Regions from separate parts of the Homo sapiens genome. Here regions 1 and 3 are each linked to region 2. The links are contacts of gene promoters, found by promoter capture Hi-C in blood cells and fetal thymus (Javierre and others, 2016). All regions are on one chromosome and are shown on one strand. Each heading gives the region's core, a stretch centred on a gene start or on the middle of the fragment in contact. The rest is flanking DNA. Distances are from core to core; before and after follow the strand shown. Region 1 overlaps SYT9 (synaptotagmin 9). Region 2 holds the start of OVCH2 (ovochymase 2). Region 3 overlaps SYT9 (synaptotagmin 9).

The links. The method cuts DNA at HindIII sites, captures the fragments that hold promoters and counts their contacts. A CHiCAGO score of 5 or more calls a contact.
Region 1: a contact is called between a fragment that was not itself captured here and the fragment with the promoter of OVCH2 in region 2, in 1 of 17 cell types (M1 macrophages). The highest score is 5.0, in M1 macrophages.
Region 3: a fragment that was not itself captured here is called in contact with the fragment with the promoter of OVCH2 in region 2 in 2 of 17 cell types (M2 macrophages and M1 macrophages); the score reaches 6.5 in M2 macrophages.

The regions. Positions count from the first base shown.
Region 1 is chr11:7,364,809-7,367,508 of GRCh38, reverse strand. The region is part of intron 3 of SYT9 (synaptotagmin 9); the gene reads right to left. Among named protein-coding and RNA genes, the nearest start is that of SYT9-AS1, 100 kb to the left of the region's middle. The HindIII fragment of the contact is 4,159 bases long and covers 1-2,700 here.
Region 2 is chr11:7,705,123-7,707,822 of GRCh38, reverse strand. OVCH2 (ovochymase 2) reads left to right here and starts at 1,346. Exons shown (of 16, transcript NM_198185.7): 1 at 1,346-1,516. The coding sequence starts at 1,429. It overlaps LOC105376533 (a long non-coding RNA gene), which reads right to left. Exons shown (of 11, transcript XR_007062576.1): 7 at 2,168-2,228; 8 at 1,545-1,598. The HindIII fragment of the contact is 6,680 bases long and covers 1-2,119 here.
Region 3 is chr11:7,344,287-7,346,986 of GRCh38, reverse strand. The region is part of intron 3 of SYT9 (synaptotagmin 9); the gene reads right to left. Among named protein-coding and RNA genes, the nearest start is that of SYT9, 94 kb to the right of the region's middle. The HindIII fragment of the contact is 3,004 bases long and covers 1-2,700 here.

The DNA.
Region 1 (2,700 bases), core at 53-2,552, 340 kb after region 2:
GTCTATTACATTAGCAAGCAATGAAATTATGATAACAGAAAAAAACCTTGGAGGTCTACACTAAATAACAGGATAACTATAACAACTAAAGCAAAAATGAAAGCAGCTATAAAGATGGTCTCCTGGAAGGCCGGGCGCGGTGGCTCACGCCTCTAATCCCAGCACTCTGGGAGGCCGAGGAGGGCGGATCACGAGGTCAGGAGATCGAGACCACGGTGAAACCCCGTCTCTACTAAAAATACCAAAAAAAAAAAAAAAAATTAGCCGGGCGTAGTGGCGGGCGCCTGTAGTTCCAGCTACTCGGGAGGCTGAGGCAGGAGAATGGCGTGAACCCGGGAGGCGGAGCTTGCAGTGAGCCGAGATTGCGCCACTGCACTCCAGCCTGGGTGACAGAGCGAGGCTCCGTCTCGAAAAAAAAAAAAAAAAAAAAAAAAAAGATGGTCTCCTGGAAAGAAGGGTAATGATAAGAGGGCATTTGCTGTCTTCTTTATACCTTCGTATACACCAGAGCATGGAATATCCACGAGAATCAGGTATAATATCTATAAGTCATAAGTTTACTATGTGTATATTTATTCACAAAAATTTATAATATATTAAAGCTAATTCAATAATAATAATAAATGTTTATGAGGGAGAATTGAATCTGGCACTTGAACACAATTTGTGGAACTATACAATAGTAAACCTAGACCAGTTGTATCAATATATGATCAGAAGCTATAAAATATATATAACATTTGGCCCCAAATTTCTATTTCTAGGACTTGAGGAAATAATTGGACAATGTAAAAAATATATATATGTGGATTTATATCACAGCATAAAGCCAAAAACTGTAGCAACTCAATTATTAATCACCAGAGGATTGGTTAAAATATGTAATAGTAATAAACATGAAATGGAATAATAATAACCAGGAGGATTATGAGTTAAAATGAAGATGTGGATGTCTATTAATTAATGTGGATGTCTATTAATTAATATGGATGTCTATAATAGATGTGGATGTCCATTAATTAGTGTGGATGTCTATTAATTAACTCTATTAAGAGTTTTATTAAGAGAAAAACATCAGATTACAAAGAAGTATGCATAGAGTGACCTCAGGTTTATCGAAAATAAGTGTGCATAGTTATGTTTATGTCTAAGTATTGAAAAAAATCCTCAAGTACATACACCAACATATTAGCAGATTGTTAGATTAAGACTGCATAGGTAGAAAGGGGCCAGGACCTGGGAATTCGGGAGGTTAGAATAATAGTCTGTATGAGAGAGTGATCCATTTGCAGAAGAAGGCCCAAAACCCAGGTATGTCAGAGCTTAGAGAAATTGCTAGCCATAGAGAGACCAAGATGAGGTGTCAACATGTCCTCATGACTGAGCAGCAACGAATCATGGGAGCCAGGATTGGAGAGTCATGTGGTCAGATGGGAGCACCTGGAGGACAGCTGGGCCACAGTCACATTTCAGTACCTTGAAGGGTAAGTAACCAAAGCAAGTAGGACTTTCTTCAAGGGCAATTACAAGGCTATAGGGTACATCAGCAGAACAGGGGTCAGAGATCAGTATCAGTGTCCCAAATTAGAGGCCCAAGGGCCACCAGTGTGGCATAGTACTGACCTTACAGATTGTGGCTAGAGCAGGATTGGAAGGGAGAAGCCTGATACATTTCAACAGTAAATACGACCCGATCCTGCTCACATATTTCACAATTTTAAGTCATTTTTGGTAACTAAAACAATAACTACAGCAACTAGAAAAAGCAAAATTAAAACAGGTATGAAATCCCCTGAAAATGCCAGTAAAGAGAAAGTAATGAGAACCAGAGGCCAGTGAAAACTGTTGGTGAAAATACTCTGAGAAGAAAGTTTAATTCGCTAATTCATTCATTTATTTTTTTAAAAATTGTCACCTATACAATGTCAGGCATGGCAGGAGGTGTTAGGCTTCGTGGTGAGCAAAGACAAACGAAACAGTCCCCTGACCTTGCAGAATTCCAATTCAGTTTGCTCAGAAGTCCATATAAAATACCAACTACAGTTAAAGAAACAAAATGCACACGATATCAGAACCTGATGTACTCTAAAGTCTTAAAAATAGTTTAGACTCATAAAGACAGAAAAGAAGAAATTTAAGGTTTTCTTCCTTTCGGCTGAGAAAATACCAAAAAATTGCTCTCCTCTATAAATTGGGAGGGGAATACATCTTTTATTCCATCTTGGATTTTTTTAGACTGAAGCATTTATTTTCCCAACGAATCATTTGTTCCCATTTCCCCACCCCATCTTGAGGATTTCTTAGTAATTTCATCGCTTTTTTTTTTCCACAATCATGAAGACAAAAATGCTTACACTCCATTATCAGAGCCTTTCATTTCATAAGCCTTGCAGTCAATGGAGCGTTTCACTGTGCAAGGAAGTGAAGGCAGAATATGTGCGGGGTGGGCCTGGGAGGAGGGGTCTGGATGCCTGAAAATCACACTCACTCAGACACATCAGGGCACAAATTGAGACCCCTAGCAATCCATAAAACCTGTCTGGGAGGCAAGTCTTAACTGTCTGAACAAAGGTTCAGTTTAGGACAGATTCTTTTTTCTTTCCTTTTTCCCTCTAGCATTTGCTCCCTCATCCATCTGTCACAGCTGCAGAGCTCCCCAGCCATGAAGGAATCTGACCCCAAATTCTATTTTAGTCCTAG
Region 2 (2,700 bases), core at 97-2,596:
ACATTTTAGACAGAATGTAGTGAATTTGGGGTCAGAAAGGCCATATTCCTAGTCAAGTTGCTCTCAAAAGTGATTGATAAAACACAATAGCAATTTAAAGGGAGCTTGCTGTCAAAGAAAGATTGAGACTTTGATTAGGGCTTAGACATTGATTGATTACCTCTTGGGGCTATCACTCCATACCAATAGCCAAAAATGTTTGGCATCAGGATTACAGTAGTTATAGATAAAGCCTCAATAGAGGTTTGAGTTTCCTTCTTTCCATAAGGCTACATTCTTGATTAGTGTACCTAAATATGTAGTGCTTACAAATGTTAAGTTTTTACACCTTCTCTGTTTTGCATTTATATTATTTGTATGTGTTGTATTTTCATACTTTTTTGTACAAAGACAAAAGTTGCCAAAAGGAAATTAAGAGCTTTTGGGCTGACATTTGTTATTTTTAGTGGGTAACTTATAAAAGTTGACAGAAAAATGTTATATTTCTATCTGGTCATAGATGGCATTGACCATCCTATAAATATTTCTCACACACTGACCATGTGCCCAAAACTCGTTGAGGAAAGAGGAAAATGTACAGGTAATCATAGCCACTTTACTCTCCCAAGCATCTACCAGGCATAGAAGTAAAGGAGATTTAGTGTTTCCCTTCTATAAATACAAAAATGATAGGAGAATGCAGAGTCACAAATGCCCCAATGTACAGTATCCTAGATGACTTTCTAACAGCAGGGCTTCCTGAGTGTGACACCCAAATATCTTTCCACTTCTCTCATTCACCAACATATGTTTATAATAACCATGTAGTTACATTTGCAAAATAAGATAAATAAAAATATTTTAGAATATTGGCTGGGCGTGGTGGCTCACACTTGTAATCCCAGACCTTTGGGAGGGCAAGGCAGGCAGATCCCTTGAGCCCAGGAGTTTGAGATCAGCCTGGGCAACATGATGAAACTCCATCTCTGCCCAAAAAAATTATATACATTTGGATGGGTCGTTTGCAAAAAAGTAGGGAAGTGTACCCTTGCAAACAAGGACAACATTGATAGTCAATCTTCTTATAGAAAGTGGTAAAAGTGGTAAGCTCTACAAAGGAGCAAGTAATGTTTGCAGATGCAAATCTTACATGCTAACCACTTTGCTAGCCAGATACACTCTGGAGGAATCAACTAATTGGTGTAGGTGTAATAGGATATGTAATATTGCTTGATCAAGACTCTGCTTCTGTGGTTGTTTCTCCACATCTTCCAAAAGATCTTTGCGAAACACTACATTCAGAAACATCAGATGGACATGCTTGATTCACCACGTCTTGGTTAATGAATAAACTTGTTTTAAATTGGCTTATTGCTGGTCTCTCAAGGCTTCCTATTTTTGTTTGCTTTAGTCTCTCTAAAATTTCAGGGAAAAACTATGAGTCTCAAAATGCTTATAAGCAGGAACAAGCTGATTTTACTACTAGGAATAGTCTTTTTTGAACGAGGTAAATCTGCAACTCTTTCGCTCCCCAAAGGTAAGTTTCAAATGAACTCTATAATTACCTTTGTCTGAACCTTTGCTGGCAATGGACGTCACAACTCCGAGACTCCATGTTCCTTTGGGAAAATAGGAGAAGCAAATATATTTTGGATATCTAATTGTTTTTAAACAATTATTTTGGACTTATCTCCTGCAATCGGCATAGGACACAGGGTGAAACATTTATAGAATGCAACTAATGTATCCAATTAAGTAAACAATCCCTGTTTTCTTCGCTTAGTTTTCCTAAGTGAACTGAGATTGTTCACTTACTTGAACCCATTACATAATCCCATCTTGGTTCATAGAGCAAATTCTGGAAATCAGCATGGATTTGGAAGCATTTTTAATCTTTTACAAAATCATCTTGCTGAGAAATATGAAGCATGTTCACTGTAGTATATTATAAATGGTCTTTTTTCCCCTTCAACTAACTTAAGCTGAAAACAGTTCTTGGAAGATTTCTCCTTGGTCAGACTTGTGCCAACCCTGAGAATCAACATGTTTTCTGACTTTGCTTTACTGAATTTGGGAAATAGTAAATTTTGTATTTAAAGTATTTATGACTCATTCAACTGAAACAGTTAGAAAATAAGCTTTTGTTCCAATGTCATCCTGGCACTGGGTTCAGGATCAAAACACTTACTGTTACATTCATGCTCTGCCATTATCCAGCTGTGTGTCTCCTTGATTCTCAGTTTTCTCATCTGCAATGTGGGGATAACAGTGCTTCATTTATAGGCATAGAGTGGGATTAAATGAGAAGCTGTATGAAAGAGCTTTGAATATTTTAACATGTTGATCTAAATAGCTATACTCTTAAGGATGTGTTCTCAAGAAAAGTCATTTGTTTGTCCATCCAGTGTTTCTAAGTGCTTACTTATGCCAAGAATTAAGCTAAACCTTAGAAATGCAGAGGTGAATAAGGCAAGTTTTTTCCCTTGAGTAGTTCATAGTCCGATGATAGAGGCAAATAATTCATTATCACAATTCTGCATGACAAGAACTATAAAAGGGGTGAAGAAAGCGTGCTACACAACACAAGGGAGAGGCAATCCCACTTTGAGGAAATCAAGGAAGACTTCCTGGTTGAGGTGATCTCCAAGCTGAGGAATAAGAATTACAGAATTTAGGTAGGCAATGAAGCATGGTGATTATGAAGCAAGGCTAGTTCTAATC
Region 3 (2,700 bases), core at 117-2,616, 360 kb after region 2:
GTCCTTTGAGACAAAACTTTGTGTTTAGTTTCCTTACTTAAACAAATTACAGCAAAGAAGCAGGCAAAATAGTGTCACAACCATATAAAAATTGCAAGTGAAGAACCATGGACAGAGATTATACAGGAAAGATATATCAAACTTTAACAGTGGTTACTTTAGGGCAGAGGGACTATAGGTGACTTTGTATCAGAATTATCTACTCTTCTGTTTTCATTCAAGTTTTCTGTATTGAGCAGACAGATTACATAATCAAGGAAAATCCAGCAAATTATTTTTGAAAAGTAAAACATTTTAAAATTTAAAAGGGACGCAAGTTGAAGTGAGACTGATTTTGTAGTTACTATAAAAGAAATCATCAGAGCAGTACACGCCAAAAGACCACAAGCTCCCTGAAGGCAGAGGCTCTTCCATATGCTCAGTACACAGCCCTGTTTCTTCCCTCCCAGAGAAGACAGAGACATCAGAAGGGCTACACTTGACTTCTTACCTTTGGATTCATAAATGTATTTGCACTTGCATTGGCCTCTCCCTCCCACTGCAACATGGGAAGAAGAGTTTTATCAAAAGCAAATCCGCCAACTCTGTTCTGGGTCCCATCCATTCGTGCCATCCGATGGGGTCTCAGCCACAGGAACCCCCTCTGCTGCTCATCCTCTCTTTCTTGCATCTCCAGGCTTCCCCACTACTGGCTCTTAGCTGTCAGTATTTAAATAATCTGTTTTCTCCCATTTTGAAAAATTCCTTCCCAATTTCAGTCCTCCTCTTCCCTTTTGCAGCCAAATGTGCCACGGAGCTATTTAAACATGCTGCCTCCTGTTCCTGTCATTTGCTTTCCAGTCTACTCTGTTCTGGCTTTGGTCCTTACTGCTCTATGGAAAGTTCCCTTACTAAAGCCACCAATGACTTTGCCGTCACATAATCCAGTGGGTTCTTTTCAGTCCTTTCTTCATCAACTTCAATGTAGCTTTGTCACTCTCTCAGTCAGAGTGACTCTGACCACTCTTGGTTCCTTGAAACATTCTTCTAGTGACTTCCATGATACAATCAACCAGTTTTCCTTTTACCTCTTTGGCTCTCTCTGCTCAGATTAAGGTCTTCTTTTCCATCTGAAGTCTAAACATTAGTATTCTTCAAAAACTGGACCTCTGTCCTCCTCTTTTATCACTCTACATTCTGCTAGTAAAGACCTTTGTCAACATCTATTTTTCAAATACCATAAACAGGATATGTTGACAATTTGTTAATTCATATTTCCAACTCAGGCCCTGCTTCTGAGCTCCAGCCTAGTCTATACAACTGTTTTTTGATTTTTTTATACTTGAATGTCTCACAGGTAGCACAAACTGAATATGTTAAAAATGGAACACATGATCTTACTTATACCAGAATACAGCCTATTCTTCACCTAATATTTCCCATCTCAGTAAATACCAACATCTGGAGTTTGCTCATGCTGAAAACCAGAAAATCATCCATCTTTGACCACTCTCTTTCTTCAATTCTCACATAAAATCAATCACTTCTGACAATGACAGAGAGGCAGGAAATGAATTTACTCTCACATTTTAAACAACTAAAAATCTGGACAAAATATATGAAACAATGATTGGACATCAGGTAATGAAGATATGTGATCCTTGAGTGACAGGAAACAAATGAGGCAAGAACTAAAACTGCCCATGTCACCACCTGGAGAAAGTTTCAGAGACACAGTACAGACAGGTGAAAACCCAGGCAGAGCCTAGTGGGCTCCCTCAGTTGAGGAAACGGACTTGGGAGTCTGGAGAGGCCATCCCCCCTAGAATTTGCAGGGTAGAGTACCAGAGAAGAGAACGATAAACAATGAGAGAGCTCGAGAGACCTGTCTTAGAAAATATTGCTGAGGGAAGGTAAAGACGATGTACTAAATGGAGAGAGATACACTGTTTGTGATGGGAAGACTCACTATTTTTAAGATTCCTATTATTTCCAAATAATAGAAAGTGATTCTATATTTAATGCAACCCCAATAAAAATTCAAGTGTGTGTGTGTGTGTGTGTGTGTGTGTGTGTGTAAAATAATGAGCTGATTATAAAATTCATATGGAAATGCAAAAGACCTAGATAACTAAAACAACTTTGACAAAGTAGGGTAAAGTTGCAGCACTTACACTATTTGATTTCAAGATTTATAAATCTGCAATCAAGACACTGTGATATTGGAGTAAAGCTAGACAAATAGAGCGATGGAAAAGAATAGAGAGTCCAGAATAGACTCATATATATGATCAATTATTTTCTTCAAAGGTGCAAAAGACAATTGTGTGGATAAAATATAGACTTTTCAACAAATGGTGCTGGAACAACTTTATAGTATACACACACATATGCATTCACAAGAAAGAACTTCAAACCATATCATACTATACATAAAAATTAACTCAAAATGGATTGTAGTTATAAATGCAAGAGCTAAAATGATAGAACTTCTAGAGTAAAACAGTAAAAAAAAATACTGTATAAATTTGGATTAGGCCAGGACTTCTTTGACACGCCACTGAAAACATACCCTATAAAAGATGAAATTGAGTAAATGGACTTGAGCAGAATTAAGAATGTCTCTCTTTCAAAAGAAAGTGTTAAGAGAATAAAAAGCCATAGCTTGGGAGAAAATATTCACATACCATATATTTGATAAAGGACTGGCATCCAGAATAT